Regions from separate parts of the Homo sapiens genome. Here region 1 is linked to region 2. The links are contacts of gene promoters, found by promoter capture Hi-C in blood cells and fetal thymus (Javierre and others, 2016). All regions are on one chromosome and are shown on one strand. Each heading gives the region's core, a stretch centred on a gene start or on the middle of the fragment in contact. The rest is flanking DNA. Distances are from core to core; before and after follow the strand shown. Region 1 overlaps ZNF790 (zinc finger protein 790). Region 2 holds the start of ZNF805 (zinc finger protein 805).

What was found. The method cuts DNA at HindIII sites, captures the fragments that hold promoters and counts their contacts. A CHiCAGO score of 5 or more calls a contact.
Region 1: a fragment that was not itself captured here is called in contact with the fragment with the promoter of ZNF805 in region 2 in 1 of 17 cell types (non-activated CD4 T cells); the score reaches 8.2 in non-activated CD4 T cells.

Annotation. Positions count from the first base shown.
Region 1 is chr19:36,833,531-36,837,832 of GRCh38, reverse strand. The region is part of intron 1 of ZNF790 (zinc finger protein 790); the gene reads left to right. Among named protein-coding and RNA genes, the nearest start is that of ZNF790, 2.7 kb to the left of the region's middle. The HindIII fragment of the contact is 2,503 bases long and covers 1,755-4,257 here.
Region 2 is chr19:57,237,844-57,242,316 of GRCh38, reverse strand. It overlaps ZNF805 (zinc finger protein 805), which reads right to left and starts at 1,685. Exons shown (of 4, transcript NM_001023563.4): 1 at 1,396-1,685. The coding sequence starts at 1,425. RefSeq lists a silencer at 1,388-1,457 and enhancers at 1,578-1,847, 1,868-2,087. The HindIII fragment of the contact is 2,977 bases long and covers 1-1,736 here.

The DNA.
Region 1 (4,302 bases), core at 1,757-4,256, about 20 Mb after region 2:
CACAGTGTAGACAACATAGTTCAAGAGTTTCTCCGTAAATTAGAGCAGAGAAATGGAGCAGCAGGTTGGGGTAGAGGGCTGGGGAAGACGGCTGGGGAACAACCACCCATCAACATGTTGTTGGAAATGAGCCACGAGAGGGGGGAAAAGTCCAGGCAAGGGTAAGTAAACAAGGCTCATCTGTGTGGGTGTAGTTAAAAATGCAAGAATTAAAAAAAATAGAAAAGGGTAATCGCGCTGCAGAGAGTAAACCATGAGCTGAAGATTTCAGATATAGGGGGAAAATACCCTGTGTTTGGTAGAGGTCAACAAAAGTGAGATGTGGTGAGTTATATACAATCTCATGGCAGGAAATTCAAAACTAGAGTTTGTGGAGGGAGGAAGAAAGGTCTGAAGGTAGTGAACAACAAGGAGGCCGGCCATCTGTTCCATTTTCAGACCCACTGGTAAGAGGCTGTAGCTGGGGAAATGTTGAGAGGGCTGCAGAGTCCTCCAGATACAGCCTAGTTTCTGTTAGACTCAGAATGTTAGGGCGTGTTCAAGGAAGTGGTTGAAGATAAAAGAGGAGTTGGTTGTTAATGAATTATGAATTCCATTATGAAGGCATACAGGAAAAGTGTTGAAAGTTGGGAAGAATGAGAAAAGGGGACAAATGAGACTTGATGGTATACAATGTCCGAAAAGACAGTTGACTAGAAATTCTGGGACTTCTTATAGTAGATAAATATAAATACAAGGTTGGATTGACATTTATTCTGGTTGGATTCAAGTCAGTTTTGGAGAGATAGCGTGGGATAGTGAAAGATGATTTCTTGAGTGTGAGAAACAAACTTACCCGTCCCAAAGAATGGACTCAGAGACCCGGAGAACAGCAAAAGTGAGACTTTTAATGATGGTCTTGCAAGATCAGTGTCTGATAGGCACACCCAACAGTTTCAACAAGCAATTTATCCCCTAGTGCACAGGTTCCTCCCCTGGTTCCTCATAGGCTGATAACTATGGGGTCACAATCTTCCCGGATGTTGCCTATTGATTGTTGGGTAGGGGCTTCAGGTGTTTTGTTTTTTGATTTTTGTGAGACAGAGTCTTGTTCTGTCACCAGGCTGGAGTGCAGTGGTGCAATCACGGCTCACTGCAACCTCCGCCTCCCAGGTTCAAGTGGATTCTCCTGCCTCAGCCTCCCGAGTAGCTGGGACTACAGGTGCGTGCCACCACGCCCAGCTAACTTTTCTATTTTTAGTAGAGATGGGGTTTCACCGTGTCGGCCAGGATGGTCTCGATCTCTTGACTTTGTGATCCGCCCGCCTCGGCCTTCCAAACTGCTGGGATTACAGGCGTGAGCCACCGCGCCCAGCCGGTGTGTGTGTGTGTTTTTTTTTTAGGCTTGTCTTGCTGCATTTGGTTGCGGCCCACAATGCACTGCAATCCTAGTTAGCTCAAGGTCTCTTCAATAGTTGACTTATGACCTAAGCAGCTGGGCAGGCTGATAAAAGCAGACAAAATGAGCTATTTTGCAGGCTAGCAAACTTTCATCTTAGACTAAACTTCTTTGGTTTGGGTGAAGGCAACTAAGTGGGGGAAAGGGAGAAAGCGGGAGGCTGACAAGCAGGCATCATCTATCCAAGCAGGGGCCTAGTATATCCTGTTTCTTCTGTAGTTTGCTTACCTAAGCCAATTCAAGGCATTTTGTCTTGGAAATGGACCACTGTATACATTATTTCCTTCACTGAGTATCTCTCAGAAAGAAGGAAGCTTAAGATAGAAGGGGGGTCAAGGTAGGCAGAATGATGGCCCTGCAACCAATGTTTACTTCCTAATCCCTGGAAACTAGGACGATGCTACTTTATATGGCAAAAAGGACTTTGCAAAGGGGATAAAGTTAAGAACCTTGAAATGGGGGCGATTATCTTGTTGGACTAATATAATGACATGGGTCCTTAAAGTCAGTGAACCTTTCCTGGCTGAGTTTAAAGTCAGAGGGAGATGTGACCGCAGAAGAATGGTCAGAGAGATGCCACATTGCTTACTAGATAGAGGAAGTGGGCCTTAAGCCAAGGAATGTTGGTGGCCTCTAGAAGCTGGAAAACATAAGAAAACGAATTCTCCCCTGGAGCTTCCAGAAAGGAACACAGCCCTACCAACACCTTGATTTTAGCCTAGTAAGACCCAACTCAGACTTCTACTGAACTATATGATAATAGATTTGTATTATTTTAAGCCACTACCTCATGGCAGTAGAAAACTAATACAGTGGTGTAGTGTCTTGGCCTCAGTGTTGTGGAGGAGTCTTGATCCCTGTGACATAAGGGGACCTCAACCTCTGTTGATTATGTTGAAGACTTCCAGTAAAGTACATAGGTCCCCACTTCACCAATAATATAATTTACAGTTTTGCTATATTGTGTTATTTTTAAACTTTGGAACTTAGTGAACTTTTATTTGTGATCTAACATCTGGTCAGTCTATACTTACTTTTTGCCTTACACTTGATTTGTCTTGGATTGAGAGAGGTGTATTAATGAAATTTTATTTTATTTTATTTTATTTTTTTTGAGACGGGGTCTCCCTCTGTCGCCCAGGCTGGAGTGCAGTGGTGGGATCTCGGCTTACCGCAACTTCTGGTTCAAGCAATTCTCCTGCCTCAGGCTCCTGAGTAGCTGGGACTACAGGCATGCGCCAACATGCCCGGCTAATTTTTTTTGTATTTTTAGTAGACACGTGGTTTCACCACATTGGCCAGGCTGGTCTTGAACTCCTGACCTTGTGATCTGCCCACCTTGGCCTCCCAAAGTGCTGGGATTACAGGTGTGAGCCACCGTGCACAGCCAAAATTTTATTTTATATAACCTGTAACTTTTGCTTTATGAAAGTTGTTGTTGCTTTGATATACAGATATTAATGATTGTTATATGTTTATTATGAATTGCAGGCTTTAGCATGCTCAAGATCATGGCCTCTGCTTATTTTTTTGTTTGTATTTGCCTTGTAATATGCTGTATTTCTTCCTAGTCTTTTTATTGAAGTTTATCATATATACAGACAATACGTTATTCTCATGAATAATCAGGAAGAGAGCATTCTTGCACTTGTCATTTTGTGTTTACATGTATGCATTTCTATTGGGTTATTCCAAGGAGAGGAATTGGTGAGTAAGAGTATGTGAATCTCCTCAAGCAGATACTGTCAGTTTTCCAAAATGGCTGAACCAGTTAAAAGTTCCCATCAACAGTTTATGCAAGTTCCAATTGATCCATCTTCTTGTTAACACATGGCATTGTCAGACTGTAAAATGTTTGCCAATATGGTGGATATGTAGTGGTATTGCATTGTGGTTTTCCTAACTGATGACTAAGGAACTTGAATACCTTTGTTTTAATGTGCATTGTCCATTTGGATATCTTCCTTTGGGAAGTGCCAGTTCAAGTTCTTAGCCTAGCTGTTGGGAAACTTGTCTTTCATTGTTAATCCTTAAGAGTTCTTTGTATAATCTGAATGAGTCCCTTGTCAGCTTTGTGTATTGTATATATCGTCTCCTAGCGTAAGGTTTGCATTTTTACTCACTGTCTTTTTTTTTTTTTTTTTTTTTTTTGAGATGGAGTTTCGCTCTTGTTGCCCAGGCTGGAATGCAATGGTGCGATCTCGGCTCACCGCAAGCTCTGCCTCCCCGGTTCAAGTGATTATCATGCCTCAGCCTCCTGAGTAGCTGGGATTACAGGCATGCGCCACCATGTCTGGCTAATTTTGTATTTTTAGTAAGAGACAAGGTTTCTCCATGTTGGTCAGGCTGGTCTCGAACTCCTGACCTCAGATGATCCACCCGCCTCAGCCTTCCAAAGTGCTGGAATTACAGGCATAAGCCACCATGACCAGCCCATTCACTCTTTTCTGATGAACAAAAATTGCTTTTTAAAATGTAGTCTGATCATTATCATTTTTCTTTTATGGTTTGTACTCTGTATCTTATTCAAATCTTTGCTTATCCCCAAGGTATGAAGATATTCTGTATTTTCATCTATATTTATCTGTCACATGTAGGTATATAAACCTGGAATTGATTTTTGTGTCGTGAGGGGAAATCATGATTTGTTTTCCTCATATAAATTCAGTTGACCTGGCACCATGTATTCAAGACCATCCTTTCTTCCATGTTATTTATTTGCTCTGAAATCTATGGTGTCTTGATATTATAGCCACCTAAGCATTATTTTGATTATGATTTGCATGGTATATCTTTTGCTATCCTTTTACTTTTAAGCTTCCTATACCACTATATTGGGGAAACTGACACCTTGAAAATTATCA
Region 2 (4,473 bases), core at 436-2,935:
TCTGCCTTTCGCTTCCAATGGCCACTGTGACTTGCTGGAAAGACTGCAAAGTTCACCTCAGGGCTTCTCAGCCAACTGTCTGTAAAAACAAAGGCTCTGGTGGTCCACACGCTAAATATGAGTTTGTTACTTAAGTGCTATGTGACTTTCAGCAGGTAACTAAACAGGTCGGAGTCTTGACCTCCTCTTGTGTACAGCAGTGTTTATAATAGAATGTCACTTTAAGGAGATCAGGATTAAATGAGATGATAAATAATGCCCATTTCTCAGTTCACATCAAGGACTCAATGAAGGCCAACCGTTACAGTTCTTGTGTTATTATTTATGCTCTTTGTCCCCACAAAATCCTTTAAGACCTCAACTCAGTAGGTGTCTAAAACTTTGCCAGATTCTCTATACAAAAACGCTAGACCAAGGGCAGGTGAGAAGGGGACTACTTTAGTCTGAACTGCCATGAAAGGCCGCTTTAAAGAAGTGACATTTGAGCAGAGCCAACAAGATGTGAAAGGGTCTTGCAGAGATCTGAGGATAGTGTCTGAGGCTGAATGAACTGTAAAGGTGAAGGCTGAGGGGTAGGAAAGAACTCTGCGTGATCAGATTGATATGTCTGAAGGGCTGAGCCAGGGAGGAAAGGAAGGAAACAAGGACAGAGGTGGTCAGCCATAGTGGACCTGTGTCTGAAGCGCTGAGCCAGGGAGGAAAGGAAGGAAACAAGGACAGAGGTGGTCAGCCATAGTGGACCGGGTAGGGACTTGCAGGCCAAGGCTGAGTTCGGATGATGTGTGTGACGGGAGTCCCTGGAGTGGAACTTCATCCATCCTTCAAGCAATTATTAAGCAGCTTTCAGAGGCCTGACACTTTAGCAGTGGAAAGCTGCAGAAGGGCTAACTAGAAGTGGGGCATCGTATGTGATTGGTTAGGCTGAGCACGTATGGCTTTCTCTGCTTGGTCCTCTTTTGGAGGCGGAGGCAAAAATTAGAACAGTCAGTTACAAATCAAGTCCTATTTGGGGCCTACTGTTCCAGGAGTTACCGTTTAGCCTCCTGAAATGTCACCAGAGAGTAATCTAGCTCCTTGCAAGACTAACTTAAGGCAGACTGGCTTCCAGAGTAGTTTATTGCAGAACAGGAGGCTGGTTTCCTGGGCAGGTTGCTACAAAAAAATTGTACGTCACAGCCCTATAATCGATGTATAGTCTGCCTACTGTCCGCTTCAATATTCAGTCTCTCAGGTACTACCACGACAGGAGATAAACTAAGTGACGAGCCTGCTCCACGTTTCGTAAACAAACAAAACTACAAAGAGGAATCCTGTGGCTGTCTTGGCTTCCGGCCTGCCCAGGAGGCTTCCCCGAACTAGCAGAAAAGCAGCAAGGCCGAAACCTTGTCCACTCACCTGCGCCGGGTCCGTCAAAGCCATCGCCATACCGGGACCCTGTGGCCCTAGCGGGGCGGGGGCTGCGGCGAGCAGGGCGGGTCTCGCGGGCTCAGCCGAGCCCCACCCCTTCCCTGCGCCGGGCCCGGTGACCTTGGCTGACAGTCAAACTCTCTCGTTACGGGGAGGCTCACGGTTCGCTCCGAGACGCGGAGGTCGCTGTCGGCCTCCTACCTGCTCATTTCCCCAGCGCCGCCAGGGAGGCGGCCACGGAACACCGCCCCCTCCCTAGAGCCGGCGTGGACGGAACCGTCGCTCCCAAATTACGTCCCATCCAAATGCCGGAAGTCCCGCCCCAAGCTTCGCAACCCACAGGAAACGCCCCTGTCCTGGACCATCATTGGCCCCAGGGCCCGCCGTCGCACCTGGCAATGCCTTGTAGTTAATGTAGTTTTTCTCTACAAACCACCTGCAAAGGGGACAGATCCTGAGCCGGCAGGCCTCGGTGTAAAAGTCGCAGCGGGCCTACAGCCCGGCTCAGACCTGCCTCTGTCCTGGGGGCACAACTCGGAGGCCAGGGACCAAGCGCGAGACCGTCCATTCTTGGCCGGAGGAAATCGAGCCCCAGGAGTCAGGGACATTTGCCAGGGTCAGGGCCAGTGCAGAGACCCTGGACCAGGCTCCGGACTCTGACTTCCACCTTGCATTATTTCCCCTCCGGATCCTCTTATACAGATCAGCGGGCAGTCAGAGTAACCAAAGGGGGACGTCGGGCGGCGCGATGCCTCAGGCCTGGGATCCCAGCGCATTGGGAGGCCAAGGGGGGCGGATCGCTTGAGCCCAGGAGCTCAAGACCAGCTTGAGCAACATAGGGAGACTACCAAAAAAAAAAAAAATTTTTTTAAAATAAGCTGAGTGTGCTGGCGCACACCTGTGGTCCCAGAAGTCTGTGGCAGGAGGATCGCTTGAGGACAGGAGTTTGAGAACAGTCTGGGCGACAGAGCGAGACCTCATTGGTACCAAAAAAAAAAAAAAAAGAAAAAGAAAAGAAAAAAAATAGAGCGCGGTGGCTCACGCCTGTAATCCCAGCACTTTGGGAGGCCGAGGCGGGTAGATCACGAGATCAGGAGATCGAGACCATCCTGGCTAACACGATGAAACCCCGTCTTTACTAAAAATGCAAAAAATTAGCCGGGCGTGGTGGCTGGCGCCTGTAGTCCCAGCTACTCGGGAGGCTGAGGCAGGAGAATGATGTGAACCCGGGAGGCGGAACTTGCAGTGAGCCGAGATCGCGCCACTGCACTCCAGCCTGGGCGACAGAGTGAGACTCCGTCTCTCTCTCTCTCTCTCTCTCTACTTATATATACATATATTTATATATACATATATACATATATACGTATATATACATATGTATATATACGTATATATATGCACATATATATTTATATATATATTTATATATATATTTTTTGAGACAGGGTCTCGCTCTGTTGCTCAGGCCATAGTGCAGTGGCGCGATCACAGCTCACTGCAGCCTCAAACTCCAGGGTTCAAGTGATCCTCCCACCTCAGCCACCCAAGTAGCTGGGACTGCAGGCACGCACCACCACGCCCAGCAAATTGAGGGTTTTTTTGTTTTGTTTTGTAGTTTTTGTAGTCAGTTTCACCATGCTGCCCAGGCTGGTCTTGAACTCCTGTGCTCAAGTGATCCACTCACCTTGGCCTCCCAAAGTGCTGGGATTACAGGCATGAGCCACAGCATCCAGCCTACTCAAAAAAAATTTTTAATTAGCTGAGCATTGTGGCACACCCCTGTAATTCCAGTTACTCAGGAGGCTGAGATGGGAGGATCTCTTGAGCCCAGGAGGTCGAGGCTGCAATGACCTGTAATTGCACCACTGCACTCCAGTCTGGGCAATAGAGCAAGACCCTGTCCAGCTGGGACATGTTGCAAATGCATTGTCTCTCTTGGGCCTTCTTTGGCCAAGCTTGGTCTTCACATGGTCCAGCAACTTTTGCTTTAGGTATTGGCTGAGAGCCCTGGTAGAGTAGATTTGACATTCCTTAACGTGGGGAGTCTTGGACTGGGTGAGCTCATGACTCCAACTTTAAGCATGATCAGTTTGAAATGTCTGTATGACCACAGAGTGTCTGTGTCACAGCAGTTCAATCTCTGACTGAATATTGGGAGAGAAGTTGTGCCTGGACATAAAAATCTGGAAGTTTTTGGCAAACACTGTTATTTCAAGTTATGATACTGGACAAGACCATGAAAAAAAATGAGCATAGATGGAGAAAGGAATGGAAAGAGGTGAACATTGTTAAACAAAAATTACAGGAGGCCATTGTTTTGGAGCTCCTACAGCAGGCCTCACTGACCAAATCAAAATGGCGTCTCTCATACTAAATGTCATCTAATCAAACTGAAGTTTTAAGGAAGCAGACAGATCCCAGTTTTTCCTAAAAGCAGATTTCAGTCTACCTGAATTAGTGAAATTAGGAAGTCCCCTCTGCTTTAACCCTTAGAAAAAGTAATCTGTTAACCAATCAGCTTTTTTTTCTATTGTTCTATTTTATTGTTCCCACCTTACAAAACCCACTGTTCTGCCATTGCCCAGTGGGAACTCTAATTTCTATTGTGTAGAACAGAGATTGCCTCAATTCATGAATCACAAACAAAAGTCAATTAGATCTAAAACTAAATTTGTTGTAATTTTGGCCTTTTGACAACCCTGAACTAACTGGTTGCAAACAAGAAAGCAACAAAGTCATGTTAGGGTCATAACAATCTTTTAAGAATTATACAGGCCGAGTGCAGTGGCTCACGGCTGTAATCCCAACACTTTGGGAGGTAAAGGCGGGTGGATCAGCTGAGGCCAGGTGTTTGAGACCAGCCTGGCCAACATGGTGAAACCCCGTCTCTACTAAAAATACAAAAATTAGCTGGGCATGGTGGCGGGTTCCTGTAATCCCAGCTACTTGGGAGGCTGAGGCAGGAGACTCGCTTGAATCTGGGAGGCGGAGACGGCAGTGGGCCGAGATCGGGCCAGAGAGCAAGATTCCGTCTCAAAAAAAAAAAATCATATTATACAAAAC